Linked DNA regions of Homo sapiens: region 2 is linked to region 1. Evidence: promoter capture Hi-C in 16 types of primary human blood cells and fetal thymus (Javierre and others, 2016). All regions are on one chromosome and are shown on one strand. The core of a region is centred on a gene start or on the middle of the fragment in contact, and the rest is flanking DNA. Distances in the headings are between cores, read along the strand shown. Region 1 holds the start of ART4 (ADP-ribosyltransferase 4 (inactive) (Dombrock blood group)). Region 2 has its middle 12 kb from the start of LINC01489.

Region 1 (4,922 bases), core at 728-3,227:
TTTATGAATGCCCAAAACCAAATTAAATCCTTGAACTTTATCCTTAAGCTATGAATAGTACTAAGGGGGCTCTCATAAGTAACAACCTTCTTGTCTACCTGGGTTCTGAAAACATTGATAATAAAAATAGCAAAATATGAAAGCCAAAATATCTGTTTTCTTACTGAAAAAGGGCACGCTACAGCAGTCACATTGTTAGGTCTGATAGCAAGTGGCTTGTTAAGAGCAAATTCCAGAATGGGACCGACTCGTTTGCAGGCAGTACTGAACTGGGGCCTGCCCAGGTAAGATTCTTGTCATGGGGAAACAGAGAACTGATGCCCTTTGCCATCAGGCTAACTCCCAGGAGGATGAAGAGCAGAGCCAAACTCAGCACACCCAGTTGTTTTTTCCCATGTTACCAGTCAAGTACATTTGTCCCCCTCAGGGACAGCAGAGTGAGTCAAGGGTTGGACAGTGGTCAGGAATGTGCCTAGGAAAGTCCCTCCCCTCCTGGAAAAGGACATTCCTTTCTAATGGGTAGCCAACAGAATGTTGTTTATTCACGTCTAGTGCATGCTAAACTGAAATGACAGATTTGAATAGAAGTCCACAAAATATCATCAGACTATCATTTAGAGCCATATATAAATTATATAAATTCTAAAACATTCCTTTCTTGGCAAAGAAATGATGTTTTCGTAATAAACAGTACTCATTGAGGGACATGTTAAAGGATCACATTCCATCCAGTCAATGTTAAGGATGTTGGAACTGGAACTTAAAGAACATCCCATTTGGTATTTTTACTATGTTATTTATGATGAGACGTCAGCTAGTTGTTTGTGAACTAGAACACATTTTTAAGACTGATTAAATGATTTTAACCAATAACTCTTCACATCAGGTATTAAAATAGGTCTACGGTATCTATTTAAGCCAAGCCGAGCCAAACCAAACCAATAATACAATGTTCTGTCAACTGTCATGATGAACTCTGAAACTTTGTTAATATGTTACTAGATCTCAAATATGTACTCTGTCATCTCTTAACATTAGGTTGTTTTTTGTTACACAGATCTTTATTAAAATATTCACTTAAAACTTAAGTCAATCTGTATGCTAGAGTTTAAAGCCAAATAGACTTGGTTTATTTTGCATTGTTTGTACTATGGAAGCAATATTTTACTTAATTTTTACAGTGGATCAGGAAAATAACTTTATGCCACTAGCATCCATAATGTCAAGTGTACTAACAGTGAAGGATTCTACAATTTTTCATAACTGTTTTCAACACTCTTTACTAACATGATTTGTTAAAATGTCTGAATGAAACTAGATTCTGAATGCCTAAGTTTTCGGCCATTTAAAGGCTGTGGCCGGGTGAATGCTCTGTTGGAGCACTGATCATAAAGAGATCACCCCCTCAATTGTCCCCCTACCTCAGAACCCTCTGTGGGTCTCTGCAGGCCAGAGAGGAGCAGCAGGAATGGCAGCAGGCCTCCAAGGAGCCAGATTCTCATCGTTGCAGGAGGTACAGTAGTTGGGAGAAGAATCTTCTTGCATCTGTTGATCAATGGACCCATTTGCTTGTGTCACAAGTACTTCTCCTTTGCCCTTGCAGCTTCATCCTGAGATGAATTCTCAGAGTTCTCCTTTGAGGTTTTCTTTCAGTCTCATCCGTAACCGTTTTTTCCCCTGTCTATGCTGAGCAACTTCTGTTGCCCACCAACAACCAATAGCTTGTCTGAGGGAAGAAATCAACTCCGACTTCTTTGCAAAACTGAAATCTCTGTGAAATAGCCAGATGCGCACACCAAATAAGGGTTTCTAAAGAGAACCCAAGTTACTTTTCAATTAAAAAAATAAAATCTCTGATCTAGTCTGTATTCAGGGGAATGCCGAAGTCCTGTTAAGTGTCAGACTCAGCAGTTCAGCCTTCCCTTTCCCAGCCAAACAGGAAAAAGCATGCTCTGTCCAGCGTTTGGGGCCAAGTAGCATTATCTGGAGCCCCAGGCTTCCATCAAAACTGATAAGATTGGCATGCGCAGGGCGGCTGGGAACGCGCCACCCTGGGTGTCTATAGGCTCATCTGGCCCTGCTGATAGGCCCTGCCCAGGACGGGCGTTCACAGAGCAAAGTGTGTTTTAGAGTTATTGTCAAAAAGAAGGCTCTTTGTACTGCTTTTCCCTGGCACCTTTGAAACTCTCCAATCCAGAGATTGTACCTCTGGGTTCAAAGCTCTTCCCCCATTTTCTCTTCTGAAGACAGGCCCTCTGTCCGCACAGTTCCAGTCTCCAGTGAATCCTAATGACGACTGTCAGGAGACTGCTTATGTAGAGCTGACATAAGTTAAAATAGGGTCCACTGTGCAAACTTAATCCAGCACAGTTCTATTAAGCACTCTCTTTTAGGTAGGTACTACCCTTTCTAGTCTAAACATCCTTCTTCTCCTCCCAACCCTTGATATAATTATATTTTCTTGCAAATATTTTGTATTTATACTTCTGGATTCATTATTTAAGAAACTAAAAGTTAGCAATCCTTGATAATTGTTTTTCTTGCAAATATTTACTTCTGGATTCAATTTTTAACTTTTAAGGTAAACTAAGTGCTGTTCTTAAGTATTCTAGAATTTTTTGGCACCCTGAATTTTTTTAATCTAAATTTTCTGATGATCACAGCAGTTCTGTCTCATTAACAAATATTCAGAATATTTAGAAAGCACAAAGGAGAAAAAAATGACACATAACCCGTCACTTGGAGACAGCCACTAATTAGGTCTGGATTTTGATTTATACACCCTTAGACATACACACACACAGGTTTCTAGAACTGAAATAATATAGTATGCAGTTTTGCATACTGTTTATTCCCCTTAATATTTTAATGTAAGCATGTCCCTATATAATTTAATACCTATTGAAACATTTTTTAAACAAAGGTTCACTATATTCCATTACATAGGTGCTGCCACACAATGGGACAGCATGGGTGGATCCATGGACAGTCTCAGAAGAAGATTGATAAGTGACTAGAACATGGACTCTTGAATAAGACATCTCAGTTCAATTCCTGGTGCTCCTTCTTCCTAAATGTGTGATCTTGGACAAGCTACTTAACCTCTCTGTCTCTCTGTTTCCTCATGTGTTGAATGGAGATAATAATAGTACCAACTTCATTTTAGTGTTGATACATTCATACTCCTTAGAATAGCATCTGGCACCTAGAAATTTTCCAACAAATAAAACCAATTATTATTATTTGCACCAAAGTTTATTTAATAAATATCTTATATTTAGCTTGTTTTCAACTACATAAATTTTTGTGTGTTTCTCACAATTTTTAAGATGCAGTTCTAGAGATGTGACTACTGATCCATGGAATGCATATTTTTCAGATTTAATGGCAACCACTAGCAGTGTGTGAAAATATCCCTTTAAGACTTTAACAATTCTTAAGGTTCCTTATTAGCAACTGTTACTTTGGAATATTGAGATGTCATGAAGAGAACTAGACTTAGAATATGAAAATTTGAATTATAGTTTGAGTTCTACCCACAATGCTGGCTGAGGTAACTTTAAAAAATAAGTAATTTGTGCTTAGCCTCAGTTTCCTTAACCTTATAGAAAGTTGTCAGGCTTAAATAAGGTGAAACTTTTCTTTTATTGAGCAAGTACTGTACTTCAAGACCTTTTTGCATGTTATCTCAACCCATGGGACGACCATGAAGAGATATTTTAACCTTTCCTTTATAAATGTGGTTGTTGAGGCCCTGTGAAGTTTAATAACTTTTTAGTAATCACAGGTGCTTTTCTGTCTCCTGAAGCCCACGATCTTAAAACACTCTAAAAGAGTGTGTCATTTTATTATTATCTTCTATAAAGGTTTTGCTATTTTTCCTATCGTGACTGCCACTTCCAGGATAAGACCACTGGAGGGCAGCAGAAAACTTTGTAACATTTTATACCACTCAGTCTAAAAGAGGGAGAACAGAAAAGGGAATGGGGCAGGGAGCAGGAAGGGGGATAGAAAGAGAGAGAGAGAGGGAGAAAGATAGAGGGAGAGAGGGAGAGAGAGTGAGGGGGAGAGCAAAAGAGAAGGGGAGCGAGAGAGTGGGGAGGGGAGGGGAGAGAGAGAAGGTAGGGAGAGAGAGAGAAGGTGGGGAGAGAGAGAGAAAGAGAGAGACAGAGAGAGAGAACCATCAGTGAAAACAACTGGGGTAGGGAAAAGCTCAAGTTCTGGTGTATATGTGAACATATTTGAATTAAAATGAAAAGTTAAGTTTTCTGATTGTTTGGAGTCAATAAAAAGTCATCTTTTGCCTTAAGGGCTATCTTATTAAGATTCTCATGTAATAATTTAATATTAGTTAATTTAGAGTTTGGGGTGCATTCAGTTATCATTTAATGATACCCAGTTCTTCAAAATGCAGCCTATTTGTGCTGTCTTGATGGGTTGGGATATAAGTTTTGAAGTAGCACAGACCTTGTGTTGGAATTTTACTTCCATCACTTCCTACCTTTGTGAGTTGGAACAAATTACACTAATTCTCAGTTGCATTTTCTTCATATGTAAAAGTAGACATGGTAACACCAGTCTTGCAGGGTTCTGTTGACAATGAAATGAAAGACCAACAACTCATAGGGTGTCCAACACAGTGAAAGTTAACTTTATTTTTTTTTTTAAGCAGCTGTTTAAGAAGAGGTTTCGCTAATTTTCCAGATCTATTTTCTGGAATAAATTCTAGATATTCTAGACTATTCTAAACCTTCTTTCAGAGAATGGGTTGCAGTACTCACTAGAGGGCCTTTCCCAGGGAGGAAACTTATCTTCTGTTACCGTCCTTGAGGTTTGGCAATGACCTTTAGTAGTTCCTGTTTGGATCTTGTTGAACTCCTTCAGATCTGTGTCTAAATTTAATAGGAGTGTTTTATTGCCAG
Region 2 (4,922 bases), core at 1,271-3,770, 170 kb after region 1:
GCCAACCATTGGAAGAGACCCCAAGACTAAGTTACAGCTAATATAGCACCGAACCCCTCTTTTCTCAGCGTGATCTTTAAGTTTTGGACTTTGAATGAAAGACCAAGGGGAAATTGTTTTATGTTTTATATACTACACTAGTTATATGTTTCATATATAACTACTGGTCCGGATAGCATGTTATCTAAGAAAAAGAACTTCTATCACCTTTAAATACTTGAAAATAATTTCCAGCTGTCTCTCTTCCTCTGATAGTCATAAACACAGACACACACAGACACACACACACACACACACACACACACACACACACAGAGAGAGAGAGAGAGAGAGAGCGAGAGACAGAGAGACAGAGAGACAGAAAGAGAGAGCTTTACCACAATTGATTATGGAAAAAATCACAATTGATTATGGAAAGAAGAAATGCTAGGAGAGCTCAGGCCCATTTATCTCAGTAGATGAACAAGATTGTAACTGCTATTATGTCCTCAGAACTTCATATAGTTCTGGTCCTGCAGTACTAAAAGGAAGGAAAAGAAGTGATGTAAGTACACGTAATGTTCTTGTTAACATAAAAAAGCAGTAAGAGAGAAAAGATAAAAATATAGTGCCTCAGCAGCTGGAAAGTGCCCAAGTGGAGTGTAGAAAAGTGTCCAGTGAAAAACAAGGGACCAGAAAGTAAATGAAGAGGGGTGCTTGGATTCAGCTAAGTGGGACAGAAAGGATTTCTTTAGGTTGAGAGAATTGGAGTTGGAAAGTAAGAAGTCTAAGGAAAATGTTCTTTCAAAAAACATGTTAGAATTAAGTGATTATAACTCACTCAAAATATCACAAATATATGTCATGAACATGGAAGTGGTTGGGAGGACAAAGGGTCAAAGGACTTCTTTGTTCTTTGAGTGGGTCCCACATGATTGAAGAGGAGGAACCAAGAACAGAATTGATGATGTTACAGATGGAAGGAAGGAAGTTTGTAGCTGAGAGCAAATTGTTCTTTGTCCTTGAGATAAAATGAAAATTTGCTCTACTGGTTAAAAATTTACATGACACACATCCCAGAATGAATGTAAAAATGTTTTTGACAGAAGGAATGGAATTAGAAGGTCCACGACTCCAATTGAACTAGATAGAGCAGATCAGGCGTCTCACATTTGCACTCACATCTCTGACATGTGTTACCCACCATGGGATACTACATCAAAAATATTTAGTGTATTTTATTCTTAAGTCTGTTTTCCACACATAATGATCTTATGTTATTGCTTGGGACACATTTGCTCCGAGCTCACGTCTCGAAGCAGGAGTCCCATTGTGGGGCATACTCATACCAAACCTTCAGTGATTCTGAGAAGAACTCTGTGCTCACGTTCTCTTTTCTGCCTTCCTCTCACAGCAAGTCTTAGTTATATTGCCACAAAGCAGTTTACGTGACTTTACTGTGTCAAGAATGATCAGTTAACACACTCAAAGTAGGCTATTGTCTCTGTGACCTGACTAATGGGCCCACCCCACACTTTCGTACATGCCAGTTTGAAACCTACTATCTTCTTCAACCACCATGATGATAGAAAGTCTTGGCATTGGTTACTCCTTTCGGGAAATGCTGGTAATAAACATTGTAGGATGGATTATTGTTCTAAGCCAAGGTTTCTCAACCTTGACATTGGAGGCACTATCGACATTAGGCACGAAGTATTTCTACTTAGTATTTGGGGGGCTGTCCTGTGCATTGCAGGATGGCAGCCAGCATCTCTGGCTTCCACCCAATATGTGCCAGTAGCATAAAATGTCTCCAGACACTGCCAAATGTCCCCCAGGGAGAAAAACTGCCCTGATTGAGAACCACTGCAGTAAACTATTATCTCCCATCAGCTCCTTATAAATTGAACTTGCAGCAGTCTAGCAAGGCATTGAGAGAACGAGAGGTGTCTGAAGCTCAGGAAAATCTGCAGCTCAGAGAGCATCAGAAAATGGCTAGAAAGGGTAGGTCTGAACTGACTGTCACAGGGCAGGGACTTTCAGAGAGTCACAAGGAGATTGGATGAGGAAAAGACAGACAGGGATGAGGGGCATAAAGAAAGGCAACTGAAAAGAAGAAGAAATATTGAGAGCAATATGGCCTTCACTATAGGGCTTTCCTAGAAAACCAGAGGGGGAATCCATAACGGGCAGTCAGAAAACCAAGGTTCTGGTTTCAATTTCACTCTCCTGTTAGTTTTTAGATCACTTATGCTTGGTTTCCTTACCTATAAAACGTGGCTATGTTTCCAGACCTGATTATCTCAGATTGCTATATTAAGGCAATAATGGGAACATTCTCTGTAGATGTGTTTATAAAAGCGTCAAGAATTGCTATTTTTGTGCAGTTGTGCCTCACATATAAGTCAGATGGCTGAGAGGAAGTAACTCAAAATTACTGGGGGCCTGAGGATAGAGAGTCTGCTCGTGGCCAGAGTGGCCTCATGCAGTTTGTTGAAAACCCAGGTCATGCTTCCTCACCTAACCCTGGATGCCTGGGCATCAGGAGCAGTTATGAGGGGTATCCAGGAGTATAAAGTAATATCTGAGTAGATGGGAGAGTGAAATTCAACTGTTAGCATTTTTCATACCAAGGAATTTTTATTAATCTCAATTTACACTTGTGGGGTTTCCAAAAGTGGAGATCTCAGTAAATCTTAGCAATAGGCCATGGTATAGTCTGTACTGCTTGAGTTCTACGGTGGAAAGGAGAATACCTGCCTACCAAAAACTTAGAAAAATATTTTAGGTAAACTGGATACAGAATAATTATGGATTTTTTTTCTCATATTCCATATGGAGAGCTGATAAAATCATCCTCAAAGCATTTTTCTTTTAAATTTAAGACTCAGGTTATCTAGCAAACAAGATGGAAACAAGTGAAAATACCAGTTTGGAAACTAAAGCAAAAAGATCCTTTGGAAATTCCTAAAACTGTTTTGAGGATCAGTTCAAGTTTGAAAGAAAGATTTAGTGCTTATTTTTTTCAACTCTTATAAAAATGACTAAACACATTCGTCCTCTGAAGTAGACTCCAGACTTTTGCACCTGGCCAAAAGGAAGAAACACTTCAGCTCAGATCAACCCAGTTTTTACTGGAATACTTGCGGCAGAACTGAGAAGTGCAGGTATAAGCACAATGACTGGATTATTCCCATCTTCTGCTTATTTAAGAAGTTAGGCATTATTCTTTCTCATTTGCAGACTTTCTGTTTACTAAACTACAAATAAAAGTGTGCAGAGATATGCTTCAGGTTTCCTATTTCTGAAATGCTGTTGGAGATTGCAATTGTACTAAGTTGGAAATTGAGAACTTAATTATTTTAAAATCTAGTCAAGTGAGAGGGAACTATCAACTGCAGAGATACCAGAGTTTTTTGACATTGTTCCTGGCCTTTGGGGATGAAGTCTAACACTCCCCTTTTACAGTTCTCCCTCTCTTCATTCCCTAAAACCAGAGAGCTGAACCTATTTGCAAAACATTGTTACTTCAGGCATCTCATGGGGGATGATTAATAAGTAACCATGGTTAAATGATACAAGGAATAAAATAGCTAGTTGCCAGAAAGACAAAGGTGACCTGGAGAACATCAGAAGATTTTGAGGAAAATAAGGGCTCTAAACAGACGTTATATATTTGCTTTGTTTCTGTCAAATGCTAGGATCTCAATCAATGCATCCCCAGAACAGTTCAGAGAGTAGAGCTGTGGTAGCATCTGATGATGGGTCTTATTGCAAAATGGGCTATCCACTCTCAAAGTTAGTGGGTTCCTTACCACAAAATAATTTCTAATGAGAAGAATGATTTCTGCCATGTTAAGGAAACTTGCAAAATAGATGGGTAAGCCCTCACAACTCCTACTTACCTGGAAATTATATGATTTATATGTGTTGTTGGATTATTAGAACTTTTTGAGAAAAACACTGAAACCATGTTTTAAAAACAGGTAGGTTCATTTTATAGGCTACAACATGGATGAATCTTGAGGACATTATGCTAAATGAAATAAGCTAGTCACAAAAAGACAAACACTGTATAAACCCACTTAAATGAGGTATCAAACTCATAGAAACATAAAGTAGAATGGTGGTTGCCAGGGGCTGGGTGAAGGGTCAAATGAGCTGCTGCTCAATGGGTATAGAGTTTGAGTTTTGCAAGATGAAAACGTTCTGGATATCTATTGTACAATAATAGGAATAAACTTAATGCCAATCAGCGGTGCACGTACAAATGGTTAAGATGGTAAATTTTATGTTTGTGATTTTCAACACAATTAAAAATTTTTAAAGTATTTTAAAGTGTATACTATTTGCTAAATAAAAGAACTTTGTTTAAAAACCCTGGCAAGACGAACTGAGTAGAATCATGGAACACAGAGGGTATAGCTGAGTGAGTGTGATTGTAATTAGTAGACTGTTAGTCTTCCACGCAACCTCACAGATCGGAGAATGAGAATCACTAAGAATCACATTGAGGAGAAAGAACAGCACTTCCTCTGCTCATTTTCTGTGACGTGACCTAGAAAAAGATTTATCATGCAATAATCCAATAGATATTTACGGAACATGTAGGAAGGGGCCAATAATTATGCTAGGTGGGGATTCAGCAATGAATGCATTTCACACCTCAGTCTATTGTAAATTCCCCTGCTGAGGCTTTCAGCAACCTTCTAGTTACTAAATTCACTAGAAGCGTGTTTTACAGAGCCACACTGATTATTTCCTCCACTTAAAACTTTCTTCTTTATTGGCTTACATATCACTCTCCCTGATGTTTATTTTCCTACTTAAGCTGCTTACTCTGCCTTATCCATAAATACTGGTTGGTATTTTTCAGGGTTTCATCTTAGGTCCCCTTTTTCTCAACACATAGTAAATCCTATCAATGAGCTAATGGCCCCAAA

The links. The method cuts DNA at HindIII sites, captures the fragments that hold promoters and counts their contacts. A CHiCAGO score of 5 or more calls a contact.
Region 2: a fragment that was not itself captured here is called in contact with the fragment with the promoter of ART4 in region 1 in 4 of 17 cell types (naive CD8 T cells, activated CD4 T cells, naive CD4 T cells and 1 more); the score reaches 6.7 in naive CD8 T cells.

The regions. Positions count from the first base shown.
Region 1 is chr12:14,841,549-14,846,470 of GRCh38, forward strand. ART4 (ADP-ribosyltransferase 4 (inactive) (Dombrock blood group)) reads right to left here and starts at 1,978. Exons shown (of 3, transcript NM_021071.4): 1 at 1,422-1,978. The coding sequence starts at 1,565. The HindIII fragment of the contact is 16,901 bases long and covers 1-4,922 here.
Region 2 is chr12:15,011,798-15,016,719 of GRCh38, forward strand. No RefSeq gene overlaps it. Among named protein-coding and RNA genes, the nearest start is that of LINC01489, 12 kb to the left of the region's middle. The HindIII fragment of the contact is 8,800 bases long and covers 1-4,922 here.